Regions from separate parts of the Homo sapiens genome. Here all the other regions are linked to region 1. Evidence: promoter capture Hi-C in 16 types of primary human blood cells and fetal thymus (Javierre and others, 2016). All regions are on one chromosome and are shown on one strand. Each heading gives the region's core, a stretch centred on a gene start or on the middle of the fragment in contact. The rest is flanking DNA. Distances are from core to core; before and after follow the strand shown. Region 1 holds the start of MTMR11 (myotubularin related protein 11). Region 2 overlaps RPRD2 (regulation of nuclear pre-mRNA domain containing 2). Region 3 has its middle 25 kb from the start of ANP32E. Region 4 overlaps MRPS21 (mitochondrial ribosomal protein S21).

The links. Contacts are between HindIII fragments. The CHiCAGO score rates a contact against its expected background, and 5 or more counts as called.
Region 2: a contact is called between a fragment that was not itself captured here and the fragment with the promoter of MTMR11 in region 1, in 1 of 17 cell types (neutrophils). The highest score is 5.2, in neutrophils.
Region 3: a contact is called between a fragment that was not itself captured here and the fragment with the promoter of MTMR11 in region 1, in 13 of 17 cell types (megakaryocytes, neutrophils, erythroblasts and 10 more). The highest score is 10.2, in megakaryocytes.
Region 4: a contact is called between a fragment that was not itself captured here and the fragment with the promoter of MTMR11 in region 1, in 1 of 17 cell types (erythroblasts). The highest score is 6.1, in erythroblasts.

The regions. Positions count from the first base shown.
Region 1 is chr1:149,935,591-149,938,290 of GRCh38, reverse strand. MTMR11 (myotubularin related protein 11) reads left to right here and starts at 1,412. Exons shown (of 17, transcript NM_001145862.2): 1 at 1,412-1,709; 2 at 2,062-2,137; 3 at 2,586-2,700. The coding sequence starts at 1,644. It overlaps OTUD7B (OTU deubiquitinase 7B), which reads left to right. Exons shown (of 12, transcript NM_020205.4): 12 at 1-479. RefSeq lists an enhancer at 1,622-2,146. The HindIII fragment of the contact is 11,640 bases long and covers 1-2,453 here.
Region 2 is chr1:150,378,664-150,381,363 of GRCh38, reverse strand. All of the region lies in intron 1 of RPRD2 (regulation of nuclear pre-mRNA domain containing 2), which reads right to left. Among named protein-coding and RNA genes, the nearest start is that of RPRD2, 16 kb to the right of the region's middle. The HindIII fragment of the contact is 3,943 bases long and covers 1-2,700 here.
Region 3 is chr1:150,209,360-150,212,059 of GRCh38, reverse strand. It overlaps the pseudogene RN7SL480P. Among named protein-coding and RNA genes, the nearest start is that of ANP32E, 25 kb to the left of the region's middle. The HindIII fragment of the contact is 5,688 bases long and covers 1-2,700 here.
Region 4 is chr1:150,301,046-150,303,745 of GRCh38, reverse strand. All of the region lies in intron 2 of MRPS21 (mitochondrial ribosomal protein S21), which reads right to left. Among named protein-coding and RNA genes, the nearest start is that of MRPS21, 8.5 kb to the right of the region's middle. The HindIII fragment of the contact is 541 bases long and covers 987-1,527 here.

The DNA of each region.
Region 1 (2,700 bases), core at 163-2,662:
TGGGGCTTCATCATGTTGGCCAGGTGGTCCTGAACTCCTGACCTCAAGTAATCTGCCTGCCTTGGCCTTCCAAAATGCTTGGGATTACAGGCGTGAGCCACTGCGCCTGGTCCCTATTTTCTTTTTACAACAGACCTTGGGAAATATTTTCTTCCCCCAAGAGGTTGAGGCCCATGGAATGCATTAGGGGCAGGTGGGGTGGTGGTGCTCTGTAGCCTTTAGGACTTCTAGAATCAGGCTTCTGGGCCACCTTCTTAGCAGGTGTATACCTCTTTGTTCCAGACTGACTTTCTGTCTCACAATATCTTCACTATTTCCACAGTTGCAGCCAAGACAGGAAACTGAAAGCTGAGGCCAGAAGGGTGGTGTACTGGGGGGAGGGGAAAATTGAGTGTCACTTTGGAAAACTGGGGCCCCCATCTAAGGATTGCTGCCTCTGTAGATTCAAAAGCAATAAAACAGCAGCTCATTAACTCTTATTTTGTATTTTATTTTCTGTCTTTTTCATGTCTAAATAAAGATTTTTGCTTTGCTGTCCCCAAGTCCCCCTCCTTTAAAGGAGCTGCAGCTCCTTCTCTCCTTGTTCCCAGCTTTCCTTACCCATCTTTGCTTCTAGGGTTGCAGATGGGAGGGACGGGGGATGGACTGCTGAGCTGAAGAGAGGTTTCCAGCCCTCACCTGTGAAAGTCCTGAACATGAATCATTCATTTGGAGATCTGGTGTCTGGGTTGGAGGGGTGGAGTCACATACGGGAATGGGCACTTATTGCCTATTGGTTGTGTATCTACGTGATGGGCAAGATTAACTGGTAAGATCTTTTTGTCCCACCCACATCCCCAAGACTTGCACACAAACTGTACTTGTGTCTGCATCTTGGACACATTTCCATCTCTTTTTATACTTCTCCACTGCAGTCTTCACATGATGTCTGTGTCATGCCCTCTAGAGAAAGATATGCAAAACCACTTTAACCAGTTTCCCTGCTTCCTCACCTAATTCTTGGGCCTCTGCTGACAAAAATCCCCCCAGGTCTAATTTTCATTTTCTTCTGGAAGAGGCGGCAAGGAGGCTTGAACCACTTTCACATTCCTACCCCTCTCCCCGCCCCAAACCCCTTTGAGAAGACAAAAGAACGGAGCTTTTAAGGGAAGTCATCACTGAGACACTCCAGACAGGTAGCCCAGATGATTCCAGCTTCATAATCAATAGAACTGCTCCCCTCAAACGGTCTCCAGTACTCATGAACAGGAAGAGAACAGGGTCTGGGATTGGGGTAAAGAAGGGAGTCGTTTTTCTCTCAGTCCCCATTTCTTCCCCACCCGTCCGTCTCAGACTCCACCGTTTCCTCTCCACTTTTCCAGAATTGTGTGTATTCTCCTTTAAGGGGTTGGGCATCTCTCCCGCCCTCTCCAGAGTCGACTGAAGTTTCCGAGGAGACTTCTCAGGCTGGGCTGGACACACCTTTCCAAGGACCCCCAAACTCTGCTCCGTGCACGTCAAATGCTCCTTTCCCTTGTGTCCAACCCCCTACCCCTCTCCCTAACACCCCTCTTCTCAACAAGACTCAGCCTCTCCCCGAGGTGGGTGAGCATCCTTGAGGTTTCCCACCCTTAACTGCTGTGTCCCCGGATGGAGCCAGAGAAATGTGGTGGGGGGGCCGGGGCCAGAGTTTCAACATTGCCCCCCAGAAGGAGGAGCCAGAGATGGGGGTAAGGAGAAGGAATTTGGGGGGTGTCGGCAAGAGGGTGAGAACGGGGATGAGGTGGAGATAAAAGGGGGAAGCAAAGGCTCTAGAGGAGGAGGAGGAGGGTGTGTCTGTCTATCAGCTTCTGCTGATGGAGCCTGGTCCGTCTTTCTCAGTCTCAAGTTCGTTGTCTCATTATCCATTAACCAGCCCCTCCCTTTACTGTTTACCAGCCCTGTTAGGTCTGGAGCTCCCCACAGACACTGATCTCAGTTTCCCCCGAGAGTGTGAGTGTAGGCCTCTACAGGCAGCTGCCTCTGGGGAGTTGGGGAGCCTAGGGGTTAACTCTAGACCCCCCTCAACCCTCTGGACCAAAGTCTGTCCAGGAAAATAGGATGCCGGAGCCCAGGAGTCGTCAGCCTAGCAGTTGCCTGGCCTCCAGATGCCTCCCAGGTAATAATGCCCTATCACTCTCCAAAGACTTCCAAATTTCATCCTACGCCAATCTTGTTTCATGCCCTCACCAAAGATACCCCTGTGTTCCTCTCGTGGCTCGAAGTACGTCTGCCTGAGGCTCGCTGTCCTCCCTGACAGCCTCTAGAGCTGGCTGAGAGCTGGACCTTGACATTCCTTCTGTTTCCTTGACCCTGTTACCCCTTTTCAAATTTACTTATTCGATACATAGTTAGTGCCTGCTATGTGCCAGGCCTTGTTCTAGGCTCTGTTCTAGTTACAGAAATTAAAAAACATTTATCTTTCCTCATAAGCTTACATTGTAGTGGGCTTTGGGGAGGATTTTAATCTTCCCTATTTAGATCTCCCTTTCTTGGAGGGGTGGGTGTATCCAAGTGTGGGCAACACTGGGAACAGTCATAACAGGGCTTCCCTTCTTCCCCTTTAGGGGAGCAGATCCTAGCATGGGCCCCAGGGGTGAGGAAGGGCCTGGAACCAGAATTGTCTGGAACCCTGATCTGTACCAACTTTAGGGTCACCTTCCAGCCCTGTGGATGGCAGTG
Region 2 (2,700 bases), core at 149-2,648, 440 kb before region 1:
TGTAGCCTCAACCACTGAGGCTCAAGCAATCCTCCCACCTCAGGCTCCTGAGTAGCTAGGACTGCAGGTACGCGCCACCATGTCTACCTATTTTTTTTTTTTTGTAGAGATGGGGGTCTCACTATGTTGCCCAGGCTGGTCTCCAACTCCTGGACTCAAGCAATCTTTCCACCTTGGCCTACCATAGCGCTGGGATTACAGGCATAAGCCAGCACACCCTGACAATTACAGCACTTTCTATGTTCCATGCCTTCTTCTAGGTGCTGAGGATGCAGTGGTGAACAAAACAAATAATCTGTTGTTAGCAGTTTACATTCTTTTTGGGGGTGAGGGGGGCCATGTGTCTCAATAAATAAGCAAATAAATAAACAAGGCAGTATCTTATAATGAGAAAAGCCATAAAGAAAATAAAGGCCAGGCGTGCTTCACGCCTGTAATCCCAGCACTTTGGGAGGCCAAGCCGGGCAGATCACAAGGTCAAGAGATAGAGACCATCCTGGCCAACATGGTGAAACCCCGTCTCTACTAAAAATACAAAAAAGTTAGCTGGACGTGGTAGCGAGCACCTGTAATCCCAGCTACTCGGGAGGCTGAGGCAGGAGAATCGCTTGAACCCAGGAGGCAGAGGTTGCAGTGAGCCGACAGCACGCCATTGCACTCCAGCCTGGCGACAGAGAGAGACTCCGTCCCAAAAAAATAAAAATAAAATAAAATAGGAGCCGGGTGTGGTGGCTCACGCCTTAATCCCAGCACTTTGGGAGGCTGAGGCAGGTGGATCACCTGAGGTCAGAAGTTCAAGGCCAGCCTGGCTAATAGCAAAACCTCATCTCTACTAGAAAAATACAAAAATTAGCTGGGCATGGTGGTGTATGCCTATAATCCCAGCTACTTCAGAGGCTGAGACAGGAGAACTGCTTGCCATGAGACAGGAGAATCGCTTGAACCCAGGAGGAAAAAAAACAAAAAAAAATAGGGTAATATGATAAGAGAATGATGGGCGAGGGAAAGAGGTGGGCTCTCAGACAACCACCATAAGGTCAACCTCCAAGGAGATGACACCTGAGCTGAGATCTGAAAGACAAGGACATCAAAGCAAATTTTTCAAATAGCTAAATTTATGTAGTTTGAAGGTTTATCCTTTATTCTGAGAAAATGTCCTTCTAACACTTTTGGAATTAAAGTATAACCTTTTTAATAAAGTGATAGTTTATAAAATGGTGGGTAGTGATGCTATAAATGTAGTATATTTTTATGTCCATTTTTGGCAAAATAAAAAGCTAACAAACTTATGATCTCACAAATTAAAAATAAAAATTAACTGGTTGATAAAATAAAGCCTAGAGACGATCGGGCAATATGCGATGTTAAGATGAGAGACAATGGATATCTACATTGCAGAAAATTGACAAAGGTCATTCTATATTTTGGTTTCAGAAACCCTTTATATTGGTAAAAATTACTGAGGACCTCAAAGAGTTATGTTTTTGTGGGTTATAGCTATGGCTATTTACTATATGAAATTAAACCTGGCCGGGTGCGTTGGCTCACGCCTGTAATCCCAGTACTTAGGGAGGCCAAGGCGGGCAGATCACAAGGTCAAGAGATCGAGGCCATCCTGGCCACACATGGTGAAATCCCATCTCTACTAAAAATACAAAAATTTGCCAGGCGTAGTGGCTCACACCTGTAATCCCAGTGCTTAGGGAGGCCGAGGCGGGCAGATCACCTGAGGTTGGGAGTTCGAGACCAGCCTGACCAACATGGAGAAACCCCGTCTCTACTAAAAATACAAAATTAGCCGGGCATGGTGGCACATGCCTGTAATCCCAGCTACTCAGGAGGCTGAGGCAGGTGAATCGCTTGAACCTGGGAGGCGGAGGCTGCAGTGAGCCGAGATGGCGCCATTGCACTCTAGCCTAGGTAACAAAAGCAAAACTCGGTCTCAAAAAAAAATACGTAAATAAAAATAAAATAAACAGAAATTAAACCTAAGAATTTAAAAACATCCATTAACCCATTAAAAACAATAAATCCATTACAATCAATAAATTATTTCTTTTCTTTCTTTTTGTTTTTTTTTTGAGATGGAGTCTCGCTCTGTCGCCCAGGCTGGAGTGCAACGGCGTGATCTGGGCTCACTGCAACCTCCGCCTCCCAGGTTCAAGCAATTCTCCTGCCTCAGCCTCCTGAGTAGCTGGGATTACAGGCGCACGCCACCATGACGGTCTAATTTTTGTTTTTTTTTAGTAGACACAGGGTTTCGCCATGTTGGCCAGGCTGGTCTTGAACTCCTCACCTTGTGATCTGTCTGCTCGGGCCTCCCAAAGTACTGGGATTACAGGCATGAGCCAATTCAGCTGGGCCTTTTTTTTTTTTTTTTTTTTAATGAAGTCTCACTCTGTTGCCCAGGCTGATGTGCAGTGGCACCATCTCGGCTCACTGCAACTTCCACCTCCGGGTCCAAGGGATTATCCTGCCTCAGCCTCCCAAGTGGTTGGGATTACAGGCGCGCACCACCATGCCTGGCTAAGTTTTGTATTTTTAGTAAAGATGGGGTTTCTTCATTTTGGCCAGGCTGGTCTCGAACTCCTGACCTCATGTGATCCACCCGCCTTGGCCTCTCAAGTTGCTGGGATTACAGGCACTCAGTGAGCCACCCTGTCTAGCCAATAAATTATTTCTTAATTAAAAATAACTATA
Region 3 (2,700 bases), core at 181-2,680, 270 kb before region 1:
ATCTTGTATACACAATTTTTATTAAAATGTCAAAGGACAGTTACATGTTTCTATAGAATTAGCATATGTATATATATACGCTCTATCTATCTATCTATCTATCTATCTATCTATCTATCTATCTATCTATCTAGAGAGACAGGGTCTGTTACCCAGGGTGGAGTGCAGTGGCTATTCACAAGCACGATCCTGCTACTGATCCGCACGGGAGTTTTGACCTGCTCTATTTCTGACCTTGGCCAGTTTACCCCTCCCCTTAGGCAACCTCGTGGTCCCCTGTTCCTGGGAGGTCACCATATTGGTGCCGAACTTAGTGCGGACACGCGATCGGTATAGCACACTACAGCCCAGAACTCCTGGGCTCAAGCCGTCTCCTGCCTCAGCCTCCCAAGTAGCTGGGACTACAGGCACGGGACACCGCGCCTGGCAAAGTTAACAAATATTTAACTGCAGTAAAACTAATGTCAGTAGTTTCTCAGGCATTTTCATTGGCTTTTACAAAGTCACAAAATTGGGTAAAATGAGGGCCATTTACTTTATTTAAAAAAAAGAGGCCGAGCGCTGTGGCTCACGCCTGTAATCCCAACACTTTGGGACGCCGAGGCAGGTGGATCACAAGGTCAGGAGTTGGAGAGCAGCCTGGCCAATATGGTGAAACCTCGTCTCTACTAAAAAATACAAAAATTAGCCGGGCATGGTGGCACGTGCCTGTAATCCCAGCTACTCAGGAGGCTGAGGCAGGAGAATCGCTTGAACCTGGGAGGTGGAGCTTGCAGTGAGCCAAGATCGCGCCACTGCACTCTGGCCTGGGCAACAGAGTGAGACTCTGTCTCAAAAAAAGAAAAAAAAAAAAAAAAGAGATGAGAATATTCTTGGATTTTAAGAAGCCAAGATTTTCTAGTGGGTAATAGCATTTCTCAGAAAAGACTTTTTCTTTTAACAGACTAAATATTTAGGAAAACTTTTTTTCTTATATTGAGGGATTGTATTTTCAGCATTGTTTCGATGTTGCCGCAATATTTTAAAAAATACTTATTAGCAGGTGGAGATGATGTGAATTTGTTGTTTACAACCCGTAGGATATTGAAGAGCTACCTGCTGAGAGAGGAGCTGCTACCATCTGGTCTCTGCTATGAGGCCAAAGCACTACATTGGTCCCATGATAAACCTACTTTTCTTTTTGTGTCATTTATTTTCCTTTCCACTGCTATTCTATATCAGCCTTGAGGTTGCTATTGGAGTTGAGGGACAAATAAGAGGTCATATAATGTAGGCCATCGCATAATGATGAAACATCAATTCTGTGGTCTGTCTCTAAGGCTCTGTCCTTGATAATAAAATACAGTGTGCTGTAATGGTTATCAAGTTTCCACTCCATATTATTAGGTTATTAGCTATTAATTAGATATCACTTGCCATTTTTACTTTACATGACTGTAAATAACTGCTGTCTTTCAGATCTTCATGTACTCAATCTTTACAAGCGGTTTGCAATTAACATATTAAGAAAAAAACCATGGAGAATTATGTGCAAATCCTTTTCAAGGCAAGCAGTCTTACAGCTATGATCAAAGGCATAAAATGTAGAATATTTAACAAACTTTTAAAATCCTTTGTTTAAGGAACATAAGTGATAGGAAAACAAATATGAATGATACCAACTCTATCCCTTGAAAAACAGCCTAAACCCAAGATTATAAACCAAGAGCGAAATTGCAGGCAGAGAAATGGCTGAGCTGACAGCTTGTGCCCAGAAAGCTCAGAAGATGCCAAAACTTTGATTTGCTCACTTCAGTGAAGGCGTGATCCTTCATTTTGCAGGGCTATAGAAGGAGATGTATTTGAGTTTGTAAATACAAAATCGATCAATATGTGAGGGACAGACTTGTGCCGTGAAAATTCACCAAAGTCAGATTTCTAAATCAAGTTGTCAATTTATTAATTTACAGGGAGAATGTATATTTACATTGTTTATGGTATTATTGTTCAGTGTTCTAAATTGGCGCTCTTTAATAGACATATAATTCTGTCAAAAATGCAAGTTGGTGGAGTGCGGTGGCTCTCACCTATAATCCCAGCACTTTGGGAGGCCAAGGCGGGTGGATCACCTGAGGTCAGGAGTTGGAGACCAGCCTGGCCAACATGGTGAAACCCTGTCTCTACTAAAAACACAAAAATTAGCCAGGCATGGTGGTGGGTGTCTGTAATCCCAGTTACTCGGGAGGCTGAGGTAGGAGAATTGTTTGTGCCTGGGAGGCAGAGGCTGCAGTAAGCCAAGATCGAGCCACTCTACTCCAGCCTGGGTGACAGAATGAGACTCTGTCTCAAGAAATAAATAAATAAATAAAATAAAAATGCAAGTCACAGATGTATTTAGAATTTTCTAGTAGACATATTTAAAAAACTAAAAAGAAACAGGTAAAATTAATTTTAATGTATTTTAATTAACCCAACATATTCAAAATATTATACTTTCTACATGTAATCAATGTAAAAAATCATTAGTAAGATGTTTTGTATTTTTTTCATGCAAAGTCTTCCAAATCTGGGATGGATTTTATGCTTACAGCAAATCTCAATTCAGATAGCCACTTTTCTTTCTTTCTTTTTTTTTTTAACAGAGTTTTATTTTTATTTAGTTACTTTCTTCTTCTTTTTTTTCTTTTTATAAAGATAGGATCTCACCATGTTGCCCAGGCT
Region 4 (2,700 bases), core at 8-2,507, 370 kb before region 1:
GATAGCATTTTTATATCCATCATCCTAACTACACTCCTATGAAATTGTTTAGGCAAATAATGTCCTCTTTTTATAGATGAGGAAACTGAAGTTCAGAGAGGCTGACCCGCCCAAGATCACAAAATGGAACTATAAACAGAATTCAGGTCTTTAGTAAAGTGCTCTACAACAGTATTCTGCTTCTCAAACAAAAACCACCCATTTCAGAAGACAAACTGTTGCAGTATCCATGGGTAAAAGAGGGAGTGAAGAGCTGGGCTAGACTCTTCAATCAGAGTAAAGAGGAAATGGAAGCCGATAAGGGACACTTGGATAAAAGAATGATCTAAACATGTAAACATTTATTTCTGCTGAGACTTTGTGTTTAATACTGTCTAATGAAGGTTGCTTTTTGGACTAGAAAGTAGTATATTGGAGAAAATATAGAAAAAAGCCCCTGAAAGAAAAAGATTGGATATATAATGTAAAAAGTACAAGGAGACTGGATTTGAGAGAATATAAAAACGACAGAGACCCTGAGTAAATATGACCTAGGAAGACGAACCTATTGGAATGACAAAGACAGTTTAAAAGTAGGATGAAACAACACTGCAAGAGGAGGAAGGGGTTGAGTATGACTCAAGGAACCCTACTGGAGTTCCAAAAGGCTTCTAAAACAAAGGTGATCATCTTACCAAGGAAATGCCTGTACTGTCAGGCAAAAGGGCAAGACAAGGAAAAAGAATAACAAAAGAACATAAGAATGGTGAAGGGAAAAGAAAGAATATAATGATGGGGGTTGGTAAATGGCATTCCCTGGATGTACTACTTACTTCCAAAACACAGACCAAATAAATTCCAAGATGCCAGGTGAGGATTCCCTCCCTTACCCGACACGTTCTAGTCATACTAAAAAAGGCACAGATTATCTTCAAATGCCCCAGAGTCCCTATAGTAGAGGTATCTACTCAACTTTACCTCTAACAGAAAAGGATGCAAGAAAAGCTTTGTAAAACACAAGAATAGAGGGGGTGTTACTAATGATGCTTCCTTCTGCTTCCAAAAGTAGTTCAAGGACTAGTACATCAAGAGCTTTAGAGTAAACAGATCAGCCTGGAGTTCGGGCGCCTGGCAACCTAATACTGAAGGAGAAACCAGCTGCCAGTTTTAGTGAAATTCAAATGATTATGTAAAAGGAGCCAAGCTGCCTGGAGCGGGGGGAGGTGCGGGTGGCAGACTCACATGTCAGTGTAGCCAGTCTACGTCAGGACAGACGTGTATGCAGAAGGACTCAATGGACCCAGAAGGTAGCCCACTAGGAGTAAAAGGAGTCAACAGGGCATGCTTCCAGTGTACTCACCTTTCTTTGCTTGGGGGCCAGCCAATCATGCAGGGCTTCCTAGCAACCCCCACTCTCCACCTTCTCATCCCGGGGCACCAATGAGGGCCCCCAGTTATATAACAGGCATTTTGTGGTGGCCTCACTGGACAGACACGTAGGCTATTTCCTTTGTAAGACTCTCTCTGTACTCCAAACATGGTAAAGCTTTAATCACCTCCCTCTAGACTCATTTGCTCTCCTACCTATTGTTGTAATTAGACCACAGAACAAGCAAATTATTTTTAAACTACCAGCTATGAGAAAGCTGAAAGAGATCAGGAGAGGCCTGGAGTGTGAGAAAGATATACAGAAAAAGTGGCTAGAGAGAGGACATTTGGGAAAAGCAGAGAAAAAGAAGAAACAGAAAAGTGCATCAGTCAGAAAATGTGTTTAACAGGCAGCAGGAAAACAGAAGATTGGATCACTCCAAAATCAGTCTGCTCACGTATGCAAGCTTGAAAGTCCTTACCTAGAAAATTATTCTAAGAGGCCGGGCACGGTGGCTCACCCCTGTAATCCCAGCGCTTTGGGAGGCCGGGCGGGCCAATCATGAGGTCAGGAGTTTGAGACCAGCCTGGCCAACATCGTGAAACCCCGTCTCTACTACAAAAAATTAGCCGGACGTGGTGGCAGGTGCCTGTAATCCCAGCTACTCGGGAGGCTGAGGCAGGAGAATCACTTGAACCCGGGAGACAGAGGTTGCAGTGAGGCGAGACCACGCAGTCTGGGCAACAGAGAGAGACTCCGTATTAAAAAAAAAAGAAAGGAAAAAGAAAATTATTCTAAGACTGAAATATTTGTTCATTTCCCCCCTGCCCCGCGAAGCTATAATACAATTTATGGGACTCTGAGTCTATGGGACTTGAATTTCTTTTCCTTTTTTGAGACGAAGTCTCGCTCTCGTCCCCCAGGCTGGAGTGCAATGAATGGCGCGATCTCGGCTCACTGGAACCTCCGCCTCCTGGGTTCAAGCGATTCTCCTGCCTCAGCCTCCTGAGTAGCTGGGATTACAGGCACCTGCCACCATGTCCGGCTAATTTTTTTTCTTTTGAGACGAAGTCTCGCTCTCGTCCCCCAGGTTGGAGTGCAATGGCGCCATCTTGGCTCACTGCAAGCTCCGCCTCCCGGGTTCACGTCATTCTCCTGCCTCAGCCTCCCGAGTAGCTGGGACTATAGGCGCCCGCCACGGCGCCCAGCTAATTTTTTGTATTTTTAGTAGAGACGGGGTTTCACTGTGTTAGCCAGGATGGTCTCGATCTCCTGACCTCGTGATCCGCCCCCCTCAGCCTCCCAAAGTGCTGGGATTACAGGCATGAGCCACCGCGCCCGGCCAATTTTTG